Linked DNA regions of Homo sapiens: region 2 is linked to region 1. Evidence: promoter capture Hi-C in 16 types of primary human blood cells and fetal thymus (Javierre and others, 2016). All regions are on one chromosome and are shown on one strand. The core of a region is centred on a gene start or on the middle of the fragment in contact, and the rest is flanking DNA. Distances in the headings are between cores, read along the strand shown.

Region 1 (6,918 bases), core at 3,611-6,110:
AGGGCACGCTTGGCAACTACTGAAGACATTTTTGACTGTCATGATCAACACTAGATTGTGTAGTTGCATCCAGTGGGCAGAAGCCAGGGATGCTACTAAACATCCTATAGCCCCTCACAGAAAAAAAATAACCTGGCCAAACACGATAGTGCTGGGATTGAACAACACTGCTTTTTTTTTTTTTTTTTTTTTTTTGGGCAGAGTCTCACTCTGTTGCTCAGGCTGGAGTGCAGTGGTGTGATCTTGGCTCACTGCAACCTCTGCCTCCCAGGTTCAAGTGATTCTCCTGCCTCACACCCCCGAGTAGCTGGGATTACAGGCACACACCATCATGCCTGGTTAATTTTTTGTACTTTTAGTAGAGATGGGGTTTCACCATGTTGGCCAAACTGGTGTTGAACTCCTGACCTCAAGTGATCTGCCTGCTTTGGCTTCCTAAAGTGCTAGGATTACAGGCGTAAGCCACTGCACCTGGCCTGAGCAACACTGCTTTAGAACAATGTGAAACAATATCAGTGATGACGGAAATCCCTGTCTGATTACATATGCTAATGGGAGTTTTCAGCCTGGTATAGCGGCTCATGCCTGTTACCCCACCACATCGGGAGGCCAAGGAGGGAGGATGGCTTGAGCCCAGGAGTTCAAGACCAGCCTGGGCAACATAATGAGACCCCCCCCCCATTCTCTATATAATTTTTTTTTGAACTTGAAAATTGGCCTGGTGCGTTGGCTCACGCCTGTAATCCCAGCGCTTTGGGAGGCCGAGGAGGGCGAATCACGAGGTCAGGAGATCGAGACCATCCTGGCTAACACGGTGAAACCCCGTCTGTACTAAAAAGACAAAAAATTAGCCAGGCATGGTAGCGGGTGCCTGTAGTCCCAGCTACTAGGGAGGCTGAGGCAGGAGAATGGCATGAACCTGGGAGGTGGAGCTTGCAGTGAGCCAGGATCACGCCACTGCACTCCAGCCTGGGGGACAGAGTGAGACTCCATCTCAAAAAAAAAAAAAAAAAAAAAAATTAAGGCTGAGCACAATGACTCACACCTGTAGTCCTAGCACTTTGGGAGGCTGAGGTGCAAGGATCACTTGAGCCCAGTAGTTAAAGAACATCTTGGGCAACATAGTGAGATGCCATCTCTATTTAAAAGAAAAAAAAATTTTAAAAATGTAAAAATTAAATTGAAAAATGGGATTTTTTTCAAGGAGAAAAATTAGGATTTTTGTTTGCTTTGTTTTGTTTTAGGAGATAAGGTTTTGCCATGTTGTCCAAACTCATCTCCAATGATCCATCCACAAAGTGCTGGGATTACAAATGTGCACCACCGCGCGTGGTGGCCCCTTTTTTTTTTTTCATGACGGAGTCTCCTTCTGTCGCCCAGGCTGGAGTGCAGTGGCACAATATGATCTTGGCTCACTGCAAGCTCCGTCTCCCGTGCTCATGCCATTCTCCTGCCTCAGCCTCCCGAGTAGCTGGGACTATAGGTGCCCACCACCACACCCAGCTAATTTTTTGTATTTTTAGTAGAGACAGGGTTTCACCGTGTTAGCCAGGATGGTCTCAATCTTCTGACCTCGTGATCCGCCCGCCTCAGCCTCCCAAAGTGCTGGGATTACAGGCGTGAGCCACCGCGCCCGGATTTTTTTTTCTTTTTTAAAGAGCGACAGGTTCTTGCCATGCTGCCCAGGCTGGAGTGCAGTGGTGTGATCACAGTTCACTGCAGCCTCGACCTCCCAGACTCAAGCAATCTCCTGCCTCAGCCCTTAAGTAGGTGGAACTATATGCGTGCACCTCCTCACCTAGCTAATGTTTGTACTTTTTGTAGAGCTAGGGGGTTCTCCCTATGTTGCCCAGGCTGGTCTCAAACTCCTTGCCTCAAGATATCCTCCCGCCTTGGCCCCCGAAAGCACTGGGATTACAGGTGTCAGTGGCATCTCAGAGTCTCCCTCTGTCGCCCAGGCTGGAGTGCAGTGACACAATCTCGGCTCACTGCAACCTCCACCTCCTCGGTTCAAGTGATTCCTCTGCCTCAGCCTCCCGAGTAGCTGGGACTACAGGCGCGTGCCACCACGTCTGGCTAATTTTTGTATTTTTGGTAGAGACGGGGTTTCACCACCTTGGCCAGACTGTTCCCGAACTCCCAACCTCAGGTGATCCGCCTGCCTCGGCCTCCCAAAGTGCTGGGATTACAGGCGTGAGCCACGGGGCTCAGCCAAAAACTCAGTATTTTGTGACTGTAGTCCCTGCTGACCCCATCCCTCACCCCCACCCCACATGCCAGGGTTCACTTACCCGTAGGAATGGCCAATGAGCACATTTCGCTTCTTGGCATAGCGCTTGAAGATTGCTCGCATGTCCTCAGCCAGCGCATAGAAGGTGTAGGCTGCGGCCACCTGGGGCGCAGAGCTGGCCCCGTGGCCGGCCAGGTCAGGAGCCACCACCTCATAGCCTAGGCGCACAAAGAAGTCCAGCTGCTCCTTCCAGATGGCCAGGGAACCGCCGACACCATGGATGAAAAAGAGCACCACGTCGGCCTGGGCGCCTTTGCAGCTAGTGATGCGCTTCTCACAGTCAATATGGATGGTCCTCTTGGGGCGCCTGGCTCGCCGCCGCCGCCCACCACTGCCACTGCCGCTGCCGCTGCCTGCGCTGCCGGGGGCCAAGCGGCCATCGCTGCCCGCCGGATCTGCCAGCTCCACCTCCAGGGCGGCCGGCGGCTCCCCAGAGCCATTCTGCCCGTGTAGGAGGTCGGCTCGAGGGGCTCGGCCCAGGTTTTCCACCAGCAACCGCCCATTGCGGTACACGGTGATCCGGCGCTGACAGCGGACCAAGCCGGAGAGGTCCCCCTGGGCTGCATCCGAGGATGCGGATGATGGTGGAGGTGGGGCAGCGGCTGGGGCGGGTCCTGCATGCTTCACCCGCAGCACGCGGCCGGGCTTGACCTCTACAAAGGTGTAGCCATCGCTGGACTCGACGCTCTCCAGTGGCCCCACGGCGTTGGGGGGCGTGCCCAGCAGGCAACAGAAGATACCGTCGGTCACCCCGGTCAGCATGGTGTGTCCTGTGAGTGAGGACAGCAGCCAGTTCAGGTGCTGTCTCAATGAGAACCCTGCACCGTGCAGCAGGCACTCCCTGAGCCTTGGGAGAACTGTTTTAGACTCCAGTTTGGGGAGCGCCAGATCAAGTGAGCCACGGCACTGAGATTTTTTTGTTTGTGTGTGTGTGTGTGTGTGTGTGTGTGTGTGTTTTTGAGACAGTCTCGCTTTGTCATCCAGGCTGGAGGGCAGTGGCCGGATTTCGGCTTACTGCAACCTCCCCCTCCTGGGTTCAAGCGATTCTCTTGCCTCAGCCTCCTGAGTAGCTGGGATTATAGGCAGGTGCCACCATGTCTAGCTAATTTTTGTATTTTTTGTAGAGATGGGGTTTCACCATGTTGGCCAGGCTGGTCTTGAACTCCTGACCTCAAATTTTCCTCCTGCTTCGGCCTCCCAAAGTGCTGGGATTATAGGTGTGAGCCACCGTGCACTGACATGTTTTGTCTGAGCAGTGCCTTTGTGGTAGTTACCCTCCTGGGTCACCCTAGTCTATCCTCAGAGAGAAAGACTTGGCTATGGCTTACCCCACAGGGTGTCCACAGGGAAGGTGGTGGCGTCTTGTGTGGGGATGTTCCTGGAGAAGGGGACATTGTGGCAAATGTGGACCAGCCGGAAGACACCCCCTCCCCCCAGCTGGAGTTTATACCATTTATGGCCTCCTAACTCATTCATTCAGGTATACACTAACTCATCCATTCAGGTATACACTAACTCATTCATTCAGGTATACACTAACTCACTAACTCATCCAGGTATGCACTCACTAACTCACATATCCCCAGGGCCTCCTAAGGCATCTAAAATATGCAAATCTTTGGTGAGCCCCCAGTGAGGCTCCTGGCTCTGAATTTGACTCCTGAAAGGTGAGGCCCTAGGAGAGGGGGATGGGGACTGAGCCACAGAAAGCCTTGCTCAGCTCCCCTAGACCGGGGTGAGCCGGGGTCTGTTTCATAGAGGGCCAAGCTGAGGCCCAGACACTCTGAGAGGAAGCTAGACTCTGAACTTCCTCCTTGGCACCCTGGATTCTGGGGATCTGCTATACAAGTCCCCAGAGGTGGCGAAGAGGATGGGAGAGGCAGGGCCCTGGCTGGGGGCCTCCAAGCCTCCATCCCACTCCTTGGGCCACCCCCGCCCCCGTGTCCATGGCAACCACAGGCGGTTACATAACCTAAGGGGGGGATACCCGAGCAGTGCACCCCCATTGTCGAGGTGTCTAGGGCCTGGAGATGGGACCAGCTGCCTGCCTGCCCCCTACCCCAGGTTGGGCGCCGCTAAGGTAACGCACGCCCGAGACTGAGCCGCAGTGGCCCCAGACATACTGGAGGGGAAGCAGGCCATGCCCCCCACCTCGAGTGGGGCCCTAATCCCGGATTGTGGAGGGCAACGCACAGGCGCCACCCCAGCCCCGCTTCCCCGCCCCCGGCCCCCGCCTTCCAGGTGTTCGTCATCCCTGCAGCGGGGTCGAGCCCACTGGGGCTCCGTGGCTTCCTACGAGCCCAAACGCGGGGTTGGTGGACACCACTCCTCCGAAGTGGAGGCCCCGGGGCTTCGATCTCTCCTTTTGGGGCCCGTTCCCCGCTCACCTCATCGAGGGCCGCGGGGCCCGGGTCGGGGCGGAGGGGTCCCAGGCGGAGAAGCCAGCGTCCGCCTGCTGGCGCCGTTTACATGGTGGCGCGGGGTCAGGCCGGGTGCGTCTACGCGGGCGGGCACCTGCCCCTGGCGGTCAGCGCAGGGGCATCCCGCGGCCGCCGAAACAGCCGGCCCTTTAAGTTCCTCCCCCGAGTAGGCGGAGCCACGTGCCGACGGGCGGGCACTTCGGCCTATCGCAGCTGCGGACTGACCTGGCCTAGTTAGGAGCCCAATGAGAGGCGGCAATTCCGTAGTGGAGGCGGGCTCTGGGAGCAACGGCCCCGCCCCTTTTGGGGGTTCACCGAGGTTGGGGGAGGGATGGGGCCTGGCTCAAGGCGGAGAAGGGGGTTGCAGTCTAGGGTCTGCGGGACGCCTGGGAGTGTGCGGCCGGGGCCCTCTCTCTGCAAATGGGTCTCCCAAGCCCTTGCCCCCCAGCCCCTGCCTCCCAATTGCCCTGTTCCTCTCCAAACGAGGCCCCCATACTCTTCTCTCTGTATTGACCTTTCCATTCTAGAAGCAGAGACTCCAAGATCTTTTTCCAATCTCCGGTGGGGAAACTGAGGCTCATAAAGGGCACAAGAGCATAAATCAAGCAAGGAGCAAAGCTGGGACTTGAACCCAAGGCTGTGTGATTCCAAACCCTGGGAACCATTATTTGCTAACCTCCCCCCTACGCCCCCCCCTTTTCTTTTGGTAGGGACGAGGTCTCGCTATCTTGCCCAGACTGGTCTCGAACTCTGGGCATCAAGCAATCCTCTCGTCTACGGCCTCCCAAAGGGCTGAGATCACTGGCGTGAGCCATCGTGACGGGCTTCTCTAAAGCTTTCAAGGAAAGTCTTGGAGCTGTGGGTAATTAGAGAGTTTGAATTTCATAATCAGCCGATTTAACCCATGGCTGCCATGGTTCTGAGAAGGGCTGATAGCAAGAGGCAGGCATCCCAGCTCTGTGGTACCGGCGGGGCCATGGTAGGCCCTCAGGAGAGCTCAGGTCTCAAATCCAGCCTCTGCCCTTTGCTGATGTGTGACCTCGGGCAAGTTACTTCACTTTCCTGAGCCTCCGTTTATTTCTCTATGAAATTAATCCTCTCATAAGTTTGCTACGCAGGTAAAGCACTCATCATAGTGTCGTGCATATAACAAATGCTCCATATATTATGGGCATTATTATAGTGGTGATGTTTTGCTAAACGATGCTACAGGTAGGATGGGCTTCGGAGGACGAGGGGTTAAATGCTCCTTGCTGCTTGGCCACTCACATCCCCTGGAATTTGCTGCCAGAGCTGGATTCCGTCCAGACACCTACTCTTGCCCACTAAGGGCACTTCTGGGAGACTATACAGTTTATTCATTTAGCAAACACCTCTCTGCATGAACCCCAAGCTGGCACTTGTAGGGATACAGCCCCAGGCCCCTGGCCCTTGAGGAGCCCTTGAACTTGGGGGAGAGTCAAGGGAAAGCAGTCGGGCCAGAAGAATGGACAGCGGTTGAGAGAAGACGACTCCTTTTTTTTTTGAGAAAGGATCTCACTCCGTTGCCCAGGCTGCAGTGCATTGGCGCTATCATTGCTCACTACAGCCTGGATCTCCTGGGTTCAGGGAATCCTCCCACCTCACCTTCAAGTACTTGAGACTATAGGTGGTTGCTACCATGTCCCCAGGCTGGTCTCAAACTCCTGGCCCCAAGGGATCCTCCCTCCTCAGCCTCCCAAAATGCTGGAATTACAGGCATGAGCCACACCTCACTCAGCCCTTGGAGAGGAAAGGATTTTTAAAGGGCGGATAGGGGAACACCAGGCAGAGAGGAGAGTGTGGCTGAAATGTAAGATGGTGTGTGTAGAGGGTTTTGCATGCCTGATGGAAGGGCTGAGCAGGTTTTACCTGGGGAAATGGGGAGCCAAGGATAGTGTGTGAGTAGGGGAGGGGTTCAGATCTGAGTATCAGAAAATTTTTCTTCCTTTTTTTTTTTTTTTTTTTTGGTTCTAACAACAGAGGAGAATTCTTCTAGGGCCCAAAATGGGGGCAAGATTGCCAAAGACAAGCTTGCAATCCCTGAGTTTACAGATTGAGAAAGCCCAGAGTGGCGCAGGGACCACCCCAAGGACACGCAGCGAGCTTGAACTCAGGCCTCCTCGGCTTCCTGCCAAGAGGCGGAGACTTGGCTGCAGCCAGGACAAGCTGCCAGCCAGCTGTGTGCCA
Region 2 (6,440 bases), core at 3,874-6,373, 530 kb before region 1:
CAATTTGCTACTCCCTGCCCTAGAGCTTGAAGAATCTCTCCAAGTCTTTAGACGCTCTGGCCATGAGGATGTTCTGTTTGGTTTTGTTTTAATTATAGCAAAATACATGTCTTAACCATTTTTTTTTTTTGAGACAGGATCTCGCTTCATTACCCAGGCTAGAGTACAGTGGCATGATCTCAGCTCACTGCAACCTCCGCCTATCAGGCTCAAGAGATCCTCCTACCTCAGCCTTCTGAGTAGCTGAGACTACTGACATGTATCATCATGCCTGGCTAATTTTTGTATATTTTGTAGAGACGGGATTTTGCCATGTTTCACAGGCAGGTCTTGAACTCCTGGACTCAAGCAATCCTCCTGCCTCAGACTCCCAAAGTGCTGGGATGACAGGCATGAACCACTGTGCCTGACCCCCATCTTAACCATTTTTATGTGTGCAGTTCAGTGATTAAATATATTAATAATGTGCAGCTATCACCACCATTCATCTCCAGAACTTGTTAATCTTCCTAAAGTGAAACTCTGTTTTCATTAAACATTCACTCCCTGTACTAGTCTGTTTTCACACTGCTATAAAGAAACACCCAAGACTGGGTAATTTACAAAGGAAAGAGGTTTAATTGACTCATAGTTCTGCATGGCTGGGAAGGCCTCAGGAAACTTACAATCATGGCAGAAGGGAAAGAGGTGCGTCTTTTTTTTTTTTTTTTTTTTTTTTTTTGGTGAGACAGAGTCTCGCTCTGTCGCCCAGGCTGGAGTGCAGTGGTGCGATCTCGGCTCACTGCAAGCTCCGCCTCCTGGGTTCATGCATGGCAGCAGGCGAGAGAGAGGGAGCAACTGCCTTATAAAACCATCGGACGGCCAGGTGTGGTGGCTCACGCCTATAATCCCAGCACTTTGGGAGGCCGAGGCAGGCAGATCACTTGAGGTCAGGAGTTTGAGACCAGCCTGGCCAACATGGTGAAACCCCAGCTCTACTAAAAATACAAAAATTTGTCAGGCGTGGTGGCACATGCCTGTAGTTCCAGCTACTTGAGAGGCTGAGGTGGGAAAATTGCTTGAACACGGGCGGCAGAGGTTGCAGTGACCAGAAATCCCACCATGCACTCCAGCCTGGGTGACAGAGTGAGACTGTGTCTCCAATAAAACCCAAAAAACCATCAGATCTCGTGAAAACTCACTGTCATGAGAACAGCATGGGGGAACCACCCCCATGATCCAATCACCTCCCACCTGGTCCCTCCCTCAACATGTGGGGATTATGGGGATTACAATTCAAGATGAGATTTGGGTAGGGACACAGAGCCAACCCATATCTCTCCCCATTCTCCCTTCACCCCAGTCCCTGGCAACCACCATGCTATTTTCTGTCTCTATAAATTTGACTGCTTTAGGTATTTCATATAAGTGGTATTTTACAGTATTTGTCCTTTATTCTCTGACTTCTCTTACTGAGCAGAATGTCCTCAAGTTTCATCCACATTGTAGCATATGTCAGAATTTCCTTCCTTTTTTTTTTTTTTTTTTTTTTTTTGCACGACAGAGTCTCGCTCTGTCACCCAGGCTGGAGTGCAGTGGCACGATCTCAGCTCACCGCAACCTCCACCTCCTGGGTTGCTCAAGCAATTGTCCTGCCTCAGCCTCCAGAGTAGCTGGGATTACAGGTGTGTGCCACCACATGCAGCTAATTTTTGTATTTTTTAGTAGAGATGGGGTTTTGCTATGTTAGCCAGGCTGGTCTCGAACTCCTGACCTCATGTGATCTGCCCACCTTGGCCTCCCAAAGTGCTGGGATTACAGGCTTGAGCTACCATGCCTGGCTAAGAATTTCCTTCCTTTTCAAGGCTAAGAATTTCCTTCCTTTTAAAGGCTTAATAATATTGCATTGTATGAATATGCCACATTTTGTTTATCCGTTCATCTGTCTGTGGACATTTGTGTGTTTCTACCTTTTGGATATTGTGAAAAGGAATCACTAGATCACATGGAAATTTTGTGTTTAACTTTTTGAGGAACGACCACTTCATTTTCCACAAAAGCTACACCATTTTATAATCAAACTATGGGAGACAATAAATAATATCTTTTTCTCTACCCTTTTATGTTCAGTGATAGGGGCCTGTGAATTAAGACAGCTTAACAGGAGAAAGGGCTCACACATTTTAATTTTACATGCACAGAAGTTTCACAGAAAAGTGAAAACTCAAAGGAGTGTTTAGACCTGGGGCCTTAAATACCATGTTAACAAAGAGCAATAAATTGTGAGCTGAATTCACAAAGGAAGGGGGAGTATTCAAGATGCTTAAGTCTCTGTATCCAAAGTGCTTCCCCATGGATGTGAATAGGATGTTAAAAAGGATGACCAGTGGCCTGTGATTCCTATGCAGAGCTTCTAATCCTGGCCCTGCAAACCATCCTTGAACTATCTGCTTCTCTTTATTCTCCTGGCCATCAGCCCAGGGCCAGTGCTGCTGTCTCTCCTCCAGACAGCATCCTCGGAGGTCTGCCTACTTTGGATTCATTCTTACCCTTTGGTTTATTTTCCATACAGCACTCAGAAGAATCTTGAAAGCCCAAAACGGCCGGGGTGGCTCAAGCCTGTTATCTCGGCACTTTGGGAGGCTGAGGCAGGTGGATCACTTGATGCCAGGTGTTCAAGAGACAGGGAACAAAAGCTGGGAAAATTGCCTTATAAAACCATCAGATGGCCAGGTGTGGTGGCTCATGCCTATAATCCCAGCACTTCGGGAGGCTGAGGCAGGCAGATCACTTGAGGTCAGGAGTTTGAGACCAGCCTGGCCAACAGGGTGAAACCCCATCTCTACTAAAAATGCAAAAATTAGCCAGGCACGGTAGCACGCACCTGTAATCCCAGTTACTCGGGAGGCTGAGGCAGGAGAATTGCTTGAACCCAGCAGGCAGAGGTTGCAGTGAGCCGGGATCACACCACTGCACTCCAGCCTTGGCGACAGAGCAAAATTCCATTAAAAAAAAAAAAGAGCCCAAATCTCACTAAGTATCTCTATTGAATCTTCTAGATGGTTCTCCCATTGTCCTTGGGATAATGACCTTTCCAGTACTGTAGCCTACATGGCTGTGTATGACTCACTCTCCTGGGAGATGCTTGTCTCCATCCTTACTGCCCCAGACAGTGATGGAAACATCCAAGCTTGCGTGCCGGGGGCCCTGGGCTGGGACTCGCCTCCCCCAGCCCTTCTGTGGCAACTTTGGAGCTCAGCTAAATGCGATTCCTCAGAGAAGCCTTGTCTGGCCACCACTGAAGCTTAACTTCTCTATGTCTCCCCGATCCTTGCCTCTGAATTTTCTATCACTGCACCCTGTTTTCCATCTGTCTTGGCTCTTTTTCTTTTTTCTTTTTTTAGAGACAAAGTCTTGCCCTGTTGTCCAGGCTGGAGTGCAATGGCATGATCATAGCGCACAGCACCTTCAAACTCCTGGGCTCCAGTGGTCCTCTCACCTCAGCCTCCCAAGTAGCTGGGACCACAGGTGCACACCACCACCCCTGGCTTGTCTTTGCCTTTAATTATGATTTCTCTTGGTTTTCTTTTGCATCATCTGTCTGCCACATCAGACTCTGAGCTCCATAAGGCCAATGGCATCATCTGTTTTCTCCCTGCCAAATTTTTACCTTTAACACATTGATATGGTTTGGCTGTGTCCCCACCCAGCTATCATCTTGAATTGTATTTCCCATAATCCCCACACATTGAGGGAGGGACCAGGTGGAGATAATCGAATCATGGAGGTGTTTTCCTCCATGCTGTTCTCCTGATACTGAGTAAGCTCTCAAGAGATCTGATGGGGCTTTTTAAAATAAGGGGCTTCCCCCTTTGCTCAGCTCTCATTCTTCTCTCTCCTCCCGCCTTGTGAAGAAGGGCGTGTTTGCTTCCCCTTCCACCGTGATTGTAAGTTTCCTGAGGCCTCCCCAGCCCTGCAGAACTGTAGGTCAATTAAACCTCTTTCCTTTATAAATTACCCAGTTTCAGGTATGTCTTTATTAGCAGCATGAGAACAGACAAATACACACAGAGACCACAAATTTTGAGCCCCACCGTGTCCATTGAAATCTTGGCGCTGCCACTTCTTGGCAGTGTGACCTTGCAAACCCTTTACCATCCCTCCCCCTGCCCCACAGCCCTCAGTTTTCCCATCTGCAGAATAGGGATGCTGAGTGACCATCCCACCTAGGGCTGCTGGGAAGAGTACGCGCATCAGTTCACACAGAACCTCCACCCGTGTTGCCATCGAGGGTCCTGTTACTGTCATATGATAGCATTGTTGACATGAATAGCCTAGGATGAGCTATTTCTGCCCTGAAACCCTATTTTTGTCATCTGCAAAATGTGCAATTGAACTAAAATGTGTCCAGAACTCCACCCAATGTGAAGATGCTGGTGCCTGCAATCATTTATGCCTTTCTTATGCATTCACACAACCCCTACTGATTATCTGCCATAGCCCCAGCTCCCACAGGGACCTAAATATAGTTAATGTTTGTCTCAGCCTTTAAGAGAGGGAGATGGGGCCGAGTGCGGGGGTTCACGCTTCTAATCCCAGCACTTTGGGAGGCCCAGACAGAAGGATTGCTAGAGGGCAGGAGTTCAAGACCATCCTGGGCAACATAGCGAGACCCTATCTCTGTAAAAAAAAATTAATTAGTTAAAAATAGATAGATGGCTGGGCACAGTGGCTCACGCCTGTAACCCCAATACTTTGAGAAGCCGAGGCAGGCAGATTGCTTGAGGCCAGGAGTTTGAGACCAGCCTTGGTGACAGTGAAACCCCATCTCTACTAAAAATACAAAAATTAGCCGGGTGTGGTGGTGCATGCCTGTAATCCCAGCTTCTTGGGAGGCTGAGGCACGAAAATTGCTTGAACCCGGGAGGCAGATGTTGCGGTGAGCCGAGATCACGCCACCGCACTCCAACTTGCACGACAGAGCAAGACTCTGTCTCAAAATACACAAATAAATAAAGAGAAGGAGATGGAACAGCATACCAAACAACTGGAATTTAAGGCAACTGGAAAGAAAAATAACGCGAGAGGCGCTCGCCAGGAGTTGTAAACCTTGATGGAGCAACTTCCCAGGAAAACAGCCTTGGGCATGACTTCCCATTTTAAGGAAGATTTAAAAGCCCAGATCTCTCAGCAAGTTCCCTGCAAAGCCCCTTGATTGACAACCTGTGGCTCCCCCAGCACAAGGAGGAGGTGTAGGAACAAATGTTATCACCAGAGGGCGCTGCTGGACAACCATGTGCTCTCCGTACATCCAAGCACGCTGGCGAATGGGGACCATTCAACATAACATCCTAAATGATCCAACGCGATCACGAGTCCTTTTTTTTTTTTTTTTTTGAGAAGGAGCCTCGCTCTGTCACCCAACTTCTGCCTCCTGGGTTCCAGCGATTCTCCTGTCTCAGCCTCCCGAGTAGCTGGGATTACAGGCCTGCGCGCCACCATGCTCGGCTAATTTTTCTTAATAGCCCATTTTTTAATAGAACGGTTTTAGGTTCACAGCAAAATTGAGTGAAAGGTACAAAGATTTCCAATATATCCCTCCTCTGATCCTACTTTTATTGAAAAGGTTGAGTCTGAGCACAGTGGCTCACGCCTATAATTCCAGAGCTTTGAGGGGTCGAGGAAGGAGGATATCTTGAGCCCAGAAGTTTGAGACCAGCCTGGGCAACATAACGAGACCCCGTCTCTACAAAAAATAAAAAACTAACGAGGCGTGGTGACGTGCATCTGCAGTCCCAGCTAATATAGAGGCTGTGGCCGGAAGATCGCTTGAGCCCAGGAGTTTGAGGCTGCAGTGAGCTGCGATCGTGCCACTGCACTCCAGCCTGGGTGACAGAGTAAGACCCTGTCTCTAAAAAAATAAATAGCCAGGCGCGGTGGCTCATGCCTGTAATCCCAGCACTTTAGGAGGCCGAGGCAGGTGGATCACTTGAGGTCAGCCCAGCCAACATGGTGAAACCCCGTTTCCACTAGACACACAAAAATTAGTTGGGCCTGGTGGCGGGCACCTGTAGTCCCAGCTATTAGGGAGGCTGAGGCAGGAGAATCGCTTGAACCTGGGAGGTGCAGGTTGCAGTGAGCCAAGATCGCACCATTGCACTCCAACCTAGGTGACAGGCTAAAATTCCATCTCAAAAATAAATAAATAAAATAAAATAAAACAAACAAATAAATTAGCTGAGTGTGGTGGCGCATGCCTGTAGTCCCTAGTATTTGGGAGGCTGAGATGGGAGGATTGCTTGAGCCCAGAAGTTTGAGGCTGCAGTTAGCTTTGATCATGCCACTGCACTCCAGCCGGGACAACAGAGTGTGATAAAAGAGGAAGGAAGAAAGGAAGGGAGAGAGGGAGAGAAGAAGGGAGGGAGGAAGGAAAGGGAAGCATTCTAGGCAACCTGGGCAAA

What was found. Contacts are between HindIII fragments. The CHiCAGO score rates a contact against its expected background, and 5 or more counts as called.
Region 2: a contact is called between a fragment that was not itself captured here and the fragment with the promoter of ABHD8 in region 1, in 7 of 17 cell types (naive B cells, naive CD8 T cells, total CD8 T cells and 4 more). The highest score is 11.3, in naive B cells.

What each region holds. Positions count from the first base shown.
Region 1 is chr19:17,298,565-17,305,482 of GRCh38, forward strand. It overlaps ABHD8 (abhydrolase domain containing 8), which reads right to left and starts at 4,861. Exons shown (of 5, transcript NM_024527.5): 1 at 4,678-4,861; 2 at 2,292-3,060. The coding sequence starts at 3,052. It also overlaps a transcript of MRPL34 not described here. RefSeq lists enhancers at 2,397-2,897, 2,898-3,398 and silencers at 3,756-4,050, 4,434-4,983. The HindIII fragment of the contact is 14,500 bases long and covers 1-5,543 here.
Region 2 is chr19:16,766,474-16,772,913 of GRCh38, forward strand. All of the region lies in intron 10 of NWD1 (NACHT and WD repeat domain containing 1), which reads left to right. Among named protein-coding and RNA genes, the nearest start is that of NWD1, 50 kb to the left of the region's middle. The HindIII fragment of the contact is 3,685 bases long and covers 3,282-6,440 here.